Regions from separate parts of the Homo sapiens genome. Here region 2 is linked to region 1. The links are contacts of gene promoters, found by promoter capture Hi-C in human tissues and cell types (Jung and others, 2019). All regions are on one chromosome and are shown on one strand. Each heading gives the region's core, a stretch centred on a gene start or on the middle of the fragment in contact. The rest is flanking DNA. Distances are from core to core; before and after follow the strand shown. Region 1 holds the start of ODF4 (outer dense fiber of sperm tails 4). Region 2 holds the start of RANGRF (RAN guanine nucleotide release factor).

Region 1 (4,876 bases), core at 1,444-3,943:
ACATAATTACCAGTTGCTGGGAATTTACTATGAACTAGTGAGTGCTTTTTGATCATTATCTCATTCAGCACTCTTACCAAGTCTATGAGAAAAATATTGTTCCTGTGTTACAGATGAGTAAACTGAGGCATAAGGAAGCTATATGACATCCAGGTTCACAGGGCTATTAAGAGGAAGACCCGGCTGCATGTGGTGGCACACACCTGTAATCCCAAGACTTTGGGAGGCTGAGACAGGTGGATCACCTGAGGTCAGGAGTTTGAGACCGGCCTGACTGACATGGTGAAATCCTGTCTCTACAAAATACAAAACATTAGCTGGGCGTGGTGGCTCATTCCTGTAATCCCAGCTACTTGGGAGGCTGAGGCAGGAGAATTGCTTGAACCCAGGAGGCGGAAGTTGCAGTTAGCTGACCAAGATGGCGCCATTGCACTCTAGCCTGGGCAACAAGAGTGAAATCCCATCTCAAAAAAAAAAAAAAAAAAAGGCGGGGAAGACCCATTTTTCATACCTTTGCCTGTTGGACCCCAAAGCCTATGTTCTTTTTTTTTAGACAGAGACTCCTTCTGGCCTGAGTGATGAAGGAAGACTGTCTCAATAAATAAATACATAAATAAATAAAATTATAACAATCTCAGAAGGCATGACACCTCTAGGACCCATTCTCATCCTACATCCTCCTCTTTCTGGTGCTGAGAAAAAAAAGAAAGGAAAAAGAAAAGTCAAAAGAAGAGGGAAGGAACTGGTGGTGATTGACTAGCAGTGAGTAGAGCTGGGAGGGAGGTGAAGGGTTGGGGAAAGCAATGGGAAGCTCGATGACATCTTTGCAAGACATGTCCAAAGAACAATGGAGGGAGGATCTTTTCCTGGGGATAAGCTCCTGCTCCCTCCCCCTGCTCCATCAGTGAGCATTTGGGGTTGGGGTTAGGGCAGAGGAACTAGGAAGAGAAAAGGGGACTGTCCTAGTCCATTTTGTGTTGCTATAACAGAATACCTGAGGGTGAATAATTTATAAAGAAAAAAGGGCTATTTGGCTCACAATTCTGATGGCCAGAAAGCTCAAGATTGGGCATCTGTTGAGGACGTCAGGCTGCTTTCACTTATGGTGGAGGCAAGGGGGAGCTGGCTTGTGCAGAGATCACAAGGTAAGGGAGGAGCTGAAACTGTGCCCCAAACAGTTAAATAAACCAGTGATTAACAGACATTTTCGAGTTTACAGGATGGCAGCTAAGAAACAGCTTGCTGAAATGCTGAAAAATCCCTTTGCTTATAACAGGACTGGCTGAAATCAGTGGGAACCCGTATGGCTGACAGCAATCCGCACAGAACGAGCTTGCTGATGTCACAGCCTGAATTTCCACCTGCTGTTTCATACTAACGCCACCAAATTTGCACATGCAACCCACGAAGAACCTTGGAGATAACCAGACATGATTAAGGACTTTCTAGACTTCTCCTTTCTTTCCACCAATCACCCGCTAATCCCAGAATCCTCCCCCTAAACCTTTTCTAATAAAAGTACTGCCTTAAGACCAGCAAAGAGAGACAGATTTGAGCTGGATTCCCGTATCCTCGTGGGTCAGCTCACAATAAAGCTTTCCTTTTCTCAAAACCTAGTGCCCTAGTATTGGAGTATTGGCTTCTATGCACATCTGGCAGCGAGCACTTTTGCTTGGTAACAGCGCCAGGTTCTTTTTAACAACCAGCTATTGCGGGGAGCTAATGGAGTGAGGTCTCAGGGAAGGCGTTAATCCAATCACAAGGCATCTGCCCCCATGACCCAAACACCACCCACTAGGCCCTCTCACCTCCCATCACCACCACACTGGGGAGCAAATTTCAGCATGAGGTTTGGTGAAGACAAATTAACCATATGCAGACCACAGGAGGGCCTCTCACATACCATTGCTCATATGTAAAGGGAGGCAGAAGCTGGAGGGAGGTGTCAGATCCACAGTTCTGAGCTGTGGCCTGAGAAACAGGATTTCCGGAAAGAGTTAGAGCTGGAGCCACAGGCCAGGCAAGGTGGCTCACACCTGTAATCCCAGTGCTTTGGGAGGCCAAGTGGGGAGGATCTCATGAGGCCAGGAGTTTTTTTTTTTTTTTTTTGAGGCTGAGTTTCACTCTTGTTGCCCAGGCTGGAGTGCAATGGTGCGATCTCGGCTCACCGCAACCTCCGCCTCCCAGGTTCAAGCAATTCTCCTGCCTCAGCCTCCTGAGTAGCTGGGACTACAGGCATGTGCTACCACGCCCAGCTAATTTTGTATTTTTAGTAGAGATGGGGTTTCTCCATGTTGGTCAAGATGGTCTCGAACTCCCGACCTCAGGTGATCCACCCACCTCGGCCTCCCAAAGTGCAGTGATTACAGGCGTGAGCCACCGTGCCTGGCAGAGGCCAGGAGTTTGAGACCAGGCTGGGTAACATATCAAGACCCCATCTCTACAAACAATTGAAAAATTAGCCAGGCATGCTGGCACAATCCTGTAATCCCAGCTACTCAGGAGGCTGAGGTGGGAGGATCACTTGAACCCAGGAGTTCAAGGTTGCAGTGAGCCAAGGTTGTGCCACTGCATCCCAGCCTGGGCAATAGAGGGAGACCCTGTCTCTCTCTCTAAAAAAAAAAAAAAAAAAAAAAAAAATTGCTGAAGACTTGGCTTCCCTCCCCCATCTCACTGTGCCCCAGGAAAATTCCGTGGCAGTTAGGGGACCTGGCCTGCTGAATGGGTTGGGGCCTTCTCTTGGATCAAGAGTCTCTTATTTGATCGAGGTCTGTTATTAGACTTCCTCATTCTTTCTCAGACCTCAGGCTGCATGGTGGCAGCTGATGAAAATATCCAAAAGATGAGAAGAGACAATTGAGTCTGGTGAGGGAAAGGGGAGACAGAGGGTGAAGTGGTGCTCAAGATGGATGCAGAGTACTCTGGGAATGAGTTCCCCAGGTCAGAAGGAGAAAGAGACCAACATCAGAGACCTGGAAAGGAAAGGAAGAGTGGGGAGGCAGGATGGGGCACAGGTGAGCTGGGACAAGATGGGAGACTGCTGTCCTCCACCCTCTCCCTCAGTAGTAACAGGTCCTTGGGCCAGCGCCAGAACTCTCCGCTGCCCTTTCAATGGAGAATCACACACAGCTTCCGCTGGATGGCCCAGGTGTTGGCCTCTGAGCTCAGCCTGGTTGCCTTTATCCTACTATTGGTCGTGGCCTTCTCCAAGAAATGGCTGGACCTCTCTAGGAGCCTCTTCTACCAGCGCTGGCCCGTGGATGTCAGCAACAGAATCCACACATCAGCCCACGTTATGTCCATGGGGCTCCTGCACTTTTACAAATCCAGGAGCTGTTCTGACTTAGAGAATGGGAAAGGTGAGCCCCTCCACCCCCCATCCCAGCCCAGGCCGCCAGCCTGTCTTGGCCTCTGTATCTGCACCCTGGATGTATTCTTGTTCCCTCTTTCTGGTCATCTTTACTTTTTGGCCTGCAAGATGGTTCCACTGGCACTGAGACCTCCGATGATCGTTTCTCATCCTGTAGCCTGGCTAAATAGATTTGATTGGTGCAATGGAAAATGTCACTGCTTTTGATAAAACCCAGAGCCAAATCTGTGCTTCTAAGAATGCTGTGAGAGAGTTGGGCATGGTGCTGCACACCTGTAGTCTCAGCTATCCAGGAGGCTGAGGTGGGAGGATTGCTTGGGCCCAAGAATTTGAGTCCAGCCTGGGCAATTTAGTGAGACTCCTGTCTCAAAAAAAAAAAAAAAAAAATCAGGCTGGGCACTGCGTCTCACACCTGTAATCCCAGCACTTTGGGAGGCCAAAGCAGGCAGATCACCTAAGGTTGGGAGATCGAGACCATCCTGGCTAACATAGTGAAACCCCGTCTCTACTAAAAATACAAAAAATTAGCCAGGCGTGGTGGCACATGCCCGTAATCCCAGCTACTCTGGAGACTGAGGCAGGAGAATTGCTTGAACCCGGGAGGTGGAGGTTGCGGTGAGCCGAGACCGCACCATTGCACTCCAGCCTGGGCAACAAGAGTAAAACTCTGTCTCAAAAAAAAAAAAAAGTTACGAGGGGCATGGACTCAGCACAAGAGAATCATTCATTAATCGCCTAATTTACCAGGGACAAGAGCCCCAGTGAGATGGGGGTTTCCTTAGTCTTGTGTACCCAGAGCTTTGAGAGGACTCCTTGCAATGTCCCCTCTCAGGCCCTGATCCCACACATTCTCCTTTCCTTCTGCCTCAGGCCTTGCTTTTCTGGATCATTTTCCTTTTTCCACATCTGGCTTCTGTGTTCCTTCTTTCCCTGAATTCTTGCAGCTGCTTCATTCCTCATCCTTGTTTTTTTCTGTTTGTTTCGCTGATTTTTTTAGAGACAAGGTCTCACTCTGTCACCCAGGCTGGAGTACAGTGGTGCAATCATAGCTCACTGCAGCCTCGAACTTCCAGGCTCAAGGGATCCTCCTGCTTTAACTTCCGGAGAAGCTCAGACTACAGGCCGTGGCCACCACACCTGGTTCTTATTGTTGTTAGTCTCTGGTTATGCTGTTCCCTCACCCCTCAGGAATTTGGAGTTCTTTCCCTGCTCCTGGGGAAAACCAGAGCTTTTGACCCTTATTTCCATTTTTTCACTCTCCTTAGCATGAAAAAAATCACACAGCTATTATTTTCTGAAAGTATTATGTCCTTATCATATGAATATGAAAATATTCATATAATGAATTATGAAAGCATTATGAAAATATTATGTCCTTATTATAATAAATTTGGGGAAACAAAAGCTATCCTTTATTGTACACTTACTCCATTTGTTCAATTTAGTCCTTAGTCAATCCTAAGGGATAGGGATAATTATCCCTATTTTAGAGATGAGAAAATTGGG
Region 2 (5,299 bases), core at 20-2,519, 51 kb before region 1:
TGAGGTCGGAAGTTCGAGACTCACCTGACCAACATGGAGAAACTCCATCTCTACTAAAAATACAAAATTAGCTGGGTGTGGTGGTGCATGCCTGTAATCCAGCTACTTGGGAGGTTGGGGCAGGAGAACAGCTTGAACCCAGGAGGCGGAGGTTGCAGTGAGCCAAGATCATGCCATTGCACTCCAGCCTGGGCAACAAGAGTGAAACTCCATCTCAAAAACAAAACAAAACAAAAAAACCCAATATATATCAGGTCTGTTATGCTCTAAACACCGTGCCGGGTGCTGAGGATCAAAGATGAATAGAGAAATGAACTGAAATGATATAGTGAAGTTAAAACTTAAAGAACACAACAAATCTGTAAAAGACAAACAAAAGAGGGTTTAATCTGTGCTTCTGTCCAGGTGTGTGGAGCTGGGGGTGGGGTTGCACCTGCCCGGGAGCATTCCCAAGGCAAATATTTGAGAGGAATTAGATTTCTAATACCCAGGTTGGCTCTCACTTTCAGGAAGATGTGAGACCTGAATCCTAACCTGGACGCATTGTTCCCCTAATTCCCAGCAGCAGATCTATGAATTAGCGGTCTGGGTGGCAGCCCATTCTTCTTTCAGAGGCCCAGAACACCGTGAAACTATGCTTTCCTGACTCAAGAGACCCTACCTAGACGTGGGCCCCTTTGACGAGCACCTGCCCCTCAGGAGGGTCTCAGGCGACCTTCTTGGAAGGTGTGACCACTTGAAAAGGACGAGGAGGCCAGGCGCTGTGGCTCTCGCCTGTAATTCCAGCACTTAGGGAGCCGAGGCGGGAGGATCGCTTGAGTCCAGGAGTTTGAGGCCAGCCTGGGCAAGATTGGGAGACACTCCCCACCCCGCCCCATTTCTACAAGTAATTAAAAATTTAGCCGGGCGTGGTGGCGGGAGCAGGAGCCACTCAAGAGGCTGAGGCAGGAGTATCACTTGAGTCCTGGAGGTGGAGACTGCAGTGAGCGGTGATCGCGCCACTGCATTACAGCCTGGGCGACACAGCGAGACCTGTCAATCAATCAATCAATCAATCAATCAAGAGGAGGCTGGCGGGAGCATGCTCGTGACCACCGGGGGCGACATAGACCCTAACCCTAAGTCCAACCCCAAGGCAGACCCCACCGTCCCGCCAGGCGCACTCCTAAGAGCGCGGCTTCCGGAGCAAAGCCGCTGACCCCCGCCCCCAGGGTCTTGGCGCCGATTGGCCAACGAGAGCGCAGGGCGGAGCCAAATCTTAAAGGATCCGGGAGCTAAGCCAGACCCGGGTGGCGGTGGCAGCTGCGAAACCCAGGGAGCCGATGCCACGTGACCCAATGTGGACTTCTTTTAAACCTTTCTAATGCCCATAACCCAGCCTCAGACCCATGGAGCCCACGAGAGACTGCCCGCTGTTCGGGGGCGCCTTTTCCGCCATCCTCCCCATGGGGGCCATTGACGTAAGGTGAGAAGGCCGGGGCGCCCAGGGGCGGCTGACTGGGTGGGTTGTGGGAAGAGACCGGGGTCAACCAGGGTCTGCCTCGCCTCACTCCAGCGACCTCCGACCGGTCCCGGACAATCAAGAAGTTTTCTGCCATCCCGTGACGGACCAGAGCCTGATAGTGGAACTTCTCGAGCTGCAGGCCCACGTACGGGGCGAAGCGGCTGCGCGGTGAGGGAATGGCCCCCGGCTGGCCAATGGCAGGGGCGGGGTCGGACCAGTGGGCGGGGCCCGCGGCCGACGGTTAATCCGGGCGGTGAGACCACGCACGGGCCGGGAGCCAGGCCTGCAACTTAAAGATGCTCCCGGGGAGGCGACCAGAGATGTCCCTTCCTGACCCCGCTTCCCTACTCCAGGTACCACTTTGAGGATGTTGGTGGCGTGCAGGGGGCTAGGGCTGTCCATGTGGAGTCTGTTCAGCCTCTCAGTTTGGAGAACCTGGCCCTGAGGGGCCGCTGTCAAGAAGCCTGGGTCCTCTCTGGCAAGCAGCAGATAGCTAAGGAAAACCAGCAGGTGAGGGCCCGAGAGTGTGTAATGTCCTGGAAGGGCGGTAGCGGGGACGCAGAGATCCAGGTAAGCATCCTGACTCTGATCCCCTTAGGTAGCAAAGGACGTGACACTTCATCAGGCCTTGCTGAGGCTGCCCCAGTACCAGACTGATCTCTTGCTTACCTTCAATCAGCCCCCGTAAGGAGGAAGGAACGGGCGGGTATCTCATGACTGGGTTCCCAGGAGAATCGGGCTGGGAGGGACAGAACAGGGAGACTCACTGGTGGGATCCTCCAAGGAAGCAGGAGTGGGCCAGAGGTTTGGGGTAACTGATACCCAGGTCCTCTGGGGAACAGGAATTGGCAATTTCCAAACCTCAGGCCTGGATGATGTTCTGTCTCCATCTGTTCCCCCACCCCAAGCCCTGACAACAGGTCATCTCTTGGCCCCGAAAATCTGTCACCTGCACCCTGGAGCCTGGGTGACTTTGAACAGCTGGTGACCAGTCTGACCCTTCACGATCCTAACATCTTTGGTCCCCAGTAAAGGCGCTGAAGCACTGCATGATGTTGCTGAGAACTTGGGGACTCGGTTCTGTGAGGGGGAAAAGAGGTTGAAAAGAGGGTTTCCTCTTATTTCTTCCCTGTGCGTAAACATAAGACAATCCCTCTTCAGAATAAACTTGCTTTATAATCAATATAATCTCTGTGCCTTTGAATCTAACAGGACACCTGGGTCCCAGACGCCTGGGAATTGGGTCTCTCGATTCCCTTTGGTTTTGGAGGGAGGAGTTTAAAACTGTGCATGGGAGCAGGAGGGACTCAAGGGTGGCAGTGGTGAGTGGGAGGAAATACACTTTGGGATGACTCGTTCAGCCCTGAGAGAGGGGTGTGAGTTACCCAGGGAATGGGTAGGGAAGGTTTAAAGCAACACCCAAGGAAAGAAGGGAAACTCATCTCTTGTAGTGATTCAACCCTGAGAACAGATGGGGAGTGGGGTTGGCTGTCCCCCATGGATGGATGAAAGGTCACCTAATCAGTAGTCACCAGGACATAGTGGTGGAGGCACAAGTGGCCAAGGAGTGCTCATTTGGTGGAGACTGGGAAAGCGGCTGTTATTTAGTGTCTGTGTAGTAGAGGGAGCGCAGCTGGTCCCAGAAGAAGAGGGAGAGGATGGTGTGGGGGCCGAGGCGGAAGTAGGAGGCACCTATACCCTTGTACATGCCAAAAATGCCCTCGGTCCGAGCTGTCTGCAGCAGAGCGTCCAGTATCCCCCGGTACATGAGGCCCTGAGAGTGTGTCAGAGAGGGAGGGAGAGCACAGAGAAGGAGTTTGTCAGAGCCCACCAGGGGCAGCACCTCTACAGGCTGCATTTCAGGCTATCCCACCTGCACCCGCAATCTGCCTTCCCCATCCCCTGCTTCCCGCCTGCATCCCAGAGCACTTCCTTACCTTGCCCTGTGCATCTGTGGGCTGGTTGTAGAGCCTTGTGCAGGCCACATCAAAGGGTGCCATGGCCAAGACAACTGCAATGCCACTCATCATGGCAGCCACCAGCGCCAACTTCCAGCTCTGGGGAGGAAAGATCTAAGGGGGTAGAGAGGAAGAGCGTTGTCAACCAGCCAACTATTACACCCCAAGGACAGGACAGTCCCTGCCCTGGGGACACAGATGCTGGTAACTGGGGGAGCTTCCACTGCACCAGTTATAACAGTGCAAAAACAGTGAGAAGGAGGAAGGCCAGGGTACCCTGAAGGCTCAGGTACCCCTTCTGGGAGGAAGTGACAAGAGAACTGTGGGAAGGGTCTAAAGAGTTGACCTCCAAGCCCTCCTGCCACTCCCTCACCTGTGAATGTTGGGCACCATCCCCTCCAGGGCCTAGTGCAGCTTGCCCTCCCCTTCCCCCCTTCCCGAAACAGACCCACCCATTTCCCAGGCAGTACCTCCCACTGGCTCAGGAGGTCCTTGGTGGATGAGAAGGTGCACAGCTGGGTGGAGGAACCGACGATAACTCGGGGCAGGCCGCCCAGAGCCCCACGCCATAACCCCACCAGACCATGTTTCTGGCCAATCTCGGTTAGCGCCTGAAACATGCCCTAGTGTGGGGAAGACCGGGGGTGGGGTTCAGACAGCCCAGCATCAGGGGCTGCCATCCTAACACTGCCAAGGATGGGTCCTTAATAGGAATCTCTTGTCCAGACAACCAGTTCAATGTGGGCTTAGAGCCAGAATGTGGGCCCTTGGTTGTCTAGCCACCCCATTGTTCCTTCCCTGGGCACCCAAGAACTGGGGCGGGATGTATGCAAGTGAGGCCATTCACTGGTCAGGAGAAACAGGGGCAGAAAATTAGAGGAACTGGAGTACATATTGGAAAGAGGCATCAGGCACGGTGGCTCACGCCTGTAATCCTAGCACTTTGGGAGGCCCAGGCGGGTGGATCACCTGAGGTCAGGAGTTTGAGACCAGCTTGGCCAACATGGTGAAACCCCATCTCTATTAAAAATACAAAAATTGCCGGGTGCAGTGGCTCATGCCTGTAATCCCAGCACTTTGGGAGGCCGAGGCGGGCGGATCACAAGTTCAGGAGTTCGAGACCAGCCTGACCAACATGGTGAAACCCCATCTCTACTAAAATTACAAAAATTAGCTGGACGTGGTGGCGCATGGCTGTAATCCCAGCTACTCAAGAGGTTGCAGCAGGAGAATCACTTGAACCCGGGAGGTGGAGGTTGCAGTGAGCCAAGACTGCGCCACTGCACTCCAGCCTGGGCAACAGAGCAAGACTCTGTCTCAACAAAACAAAACAAAACAAAAAAAATTTAGCTGGGTGTGGTGGTGCACGCCTGTAGTCCCAAGCTACTCGGGAGGCTGAGGCAGGAGAATCACTTGAACCCGGGAAGCGGAGGTTGCAGTGAGCCGAGATCGTGCCAATGCACTTCAGCCTGGGCAACAGAGCGAGACTCCATCTAAAAAAAGAGTAAAGAGGGTCTGGGTAGACTCCAGGGGCAAAATGGGACAGAACCGATGGGTTGAGCAGAGCAGTGGCTGGGATTGGATCTGTTGGGTGCAGGCAGAAAGCTAGGGGAAAAGAGAAAGGATGGTCAGGGACTTTGGCAGACTTGGGAACCCTCACCTGATGCTTATACTGGTGCCCTACAGCAATTTCTGAGGCTGCCTGTGCCTGCAGGTGTGTCTTCACCTGGGAACAAGAGAATATCATAGCCTGTGCCCCAGTGGCCATCCTCCTACCTGAGAACCAAATGTCTCACCCCCTCACACTTCCTCTAGGGTGTTCAGCAATGAATAGCCT

The links. Contacts are between HindIII fragments. The study calls those that stand out against the background at their distance.
Region 2: the fragment with the promoter of RANGRF here is called in contact with the fragment with the promoter of ODF4 in region 1 in 2 of the 25 tissues and cell types used here (aorta and bladder).

The regions. Positions count from the first base shown.
Region 1 is chr17:8,337,147-8,342,022 of GRCh38, forward strand. ODF4 (outer dense fiber of sperm tails 4) reads left to right here and starts at 2,694. Exons shown (of 3, transcript NM_153007.5): 1 at 2,694-3,359. The coding sequence starts at 2,906. It overlaps LOC124903916 (a long non-coding RNA gene), which reads left to right and starts at 911. Exons shown (of 2, transcript XR_007065607.1): 1 at 911-1,145; 2 at 1,277-1,612. The HindIII fragment of the contact is 12,554 bases long and covers 87-4,876 here.
Region 2 is chr17:8,287,401-8,292,699 of GRCh38, forward strand. It overlaps RANGRF (RAN guanine nucleotide release factor), which reads left to right and starts at 1,270. Exons shown (of 5, transcript NM_016492.5): 1 at 1,270-1,465; 2 at 1,556-1,672; 3 at 1,858-2,014; 4 at 2,103-2,188; 5 at 2,413-2,687. The coding sequence starts at 1,389. The coding sequence ends at 2,536. SLC25A35 (solute carrier family 25 member 35) reads right to left here. Exons shown (of 5, transcript NM_001320870.2): 2 at 5,123-5,188; 3 at 3,933-4,085; 4 at 3,442-3,576; 5 at 2,661-3,278. The coding sequence ends at 3,105. RefSeq lists enhancers at 933-1,162, 1,523-1,642, 1,923-1,992 and a silencer at 1,723-1,772. The HindIII fragment of the contact is 21,210 bases long and covers 1-5,299 here.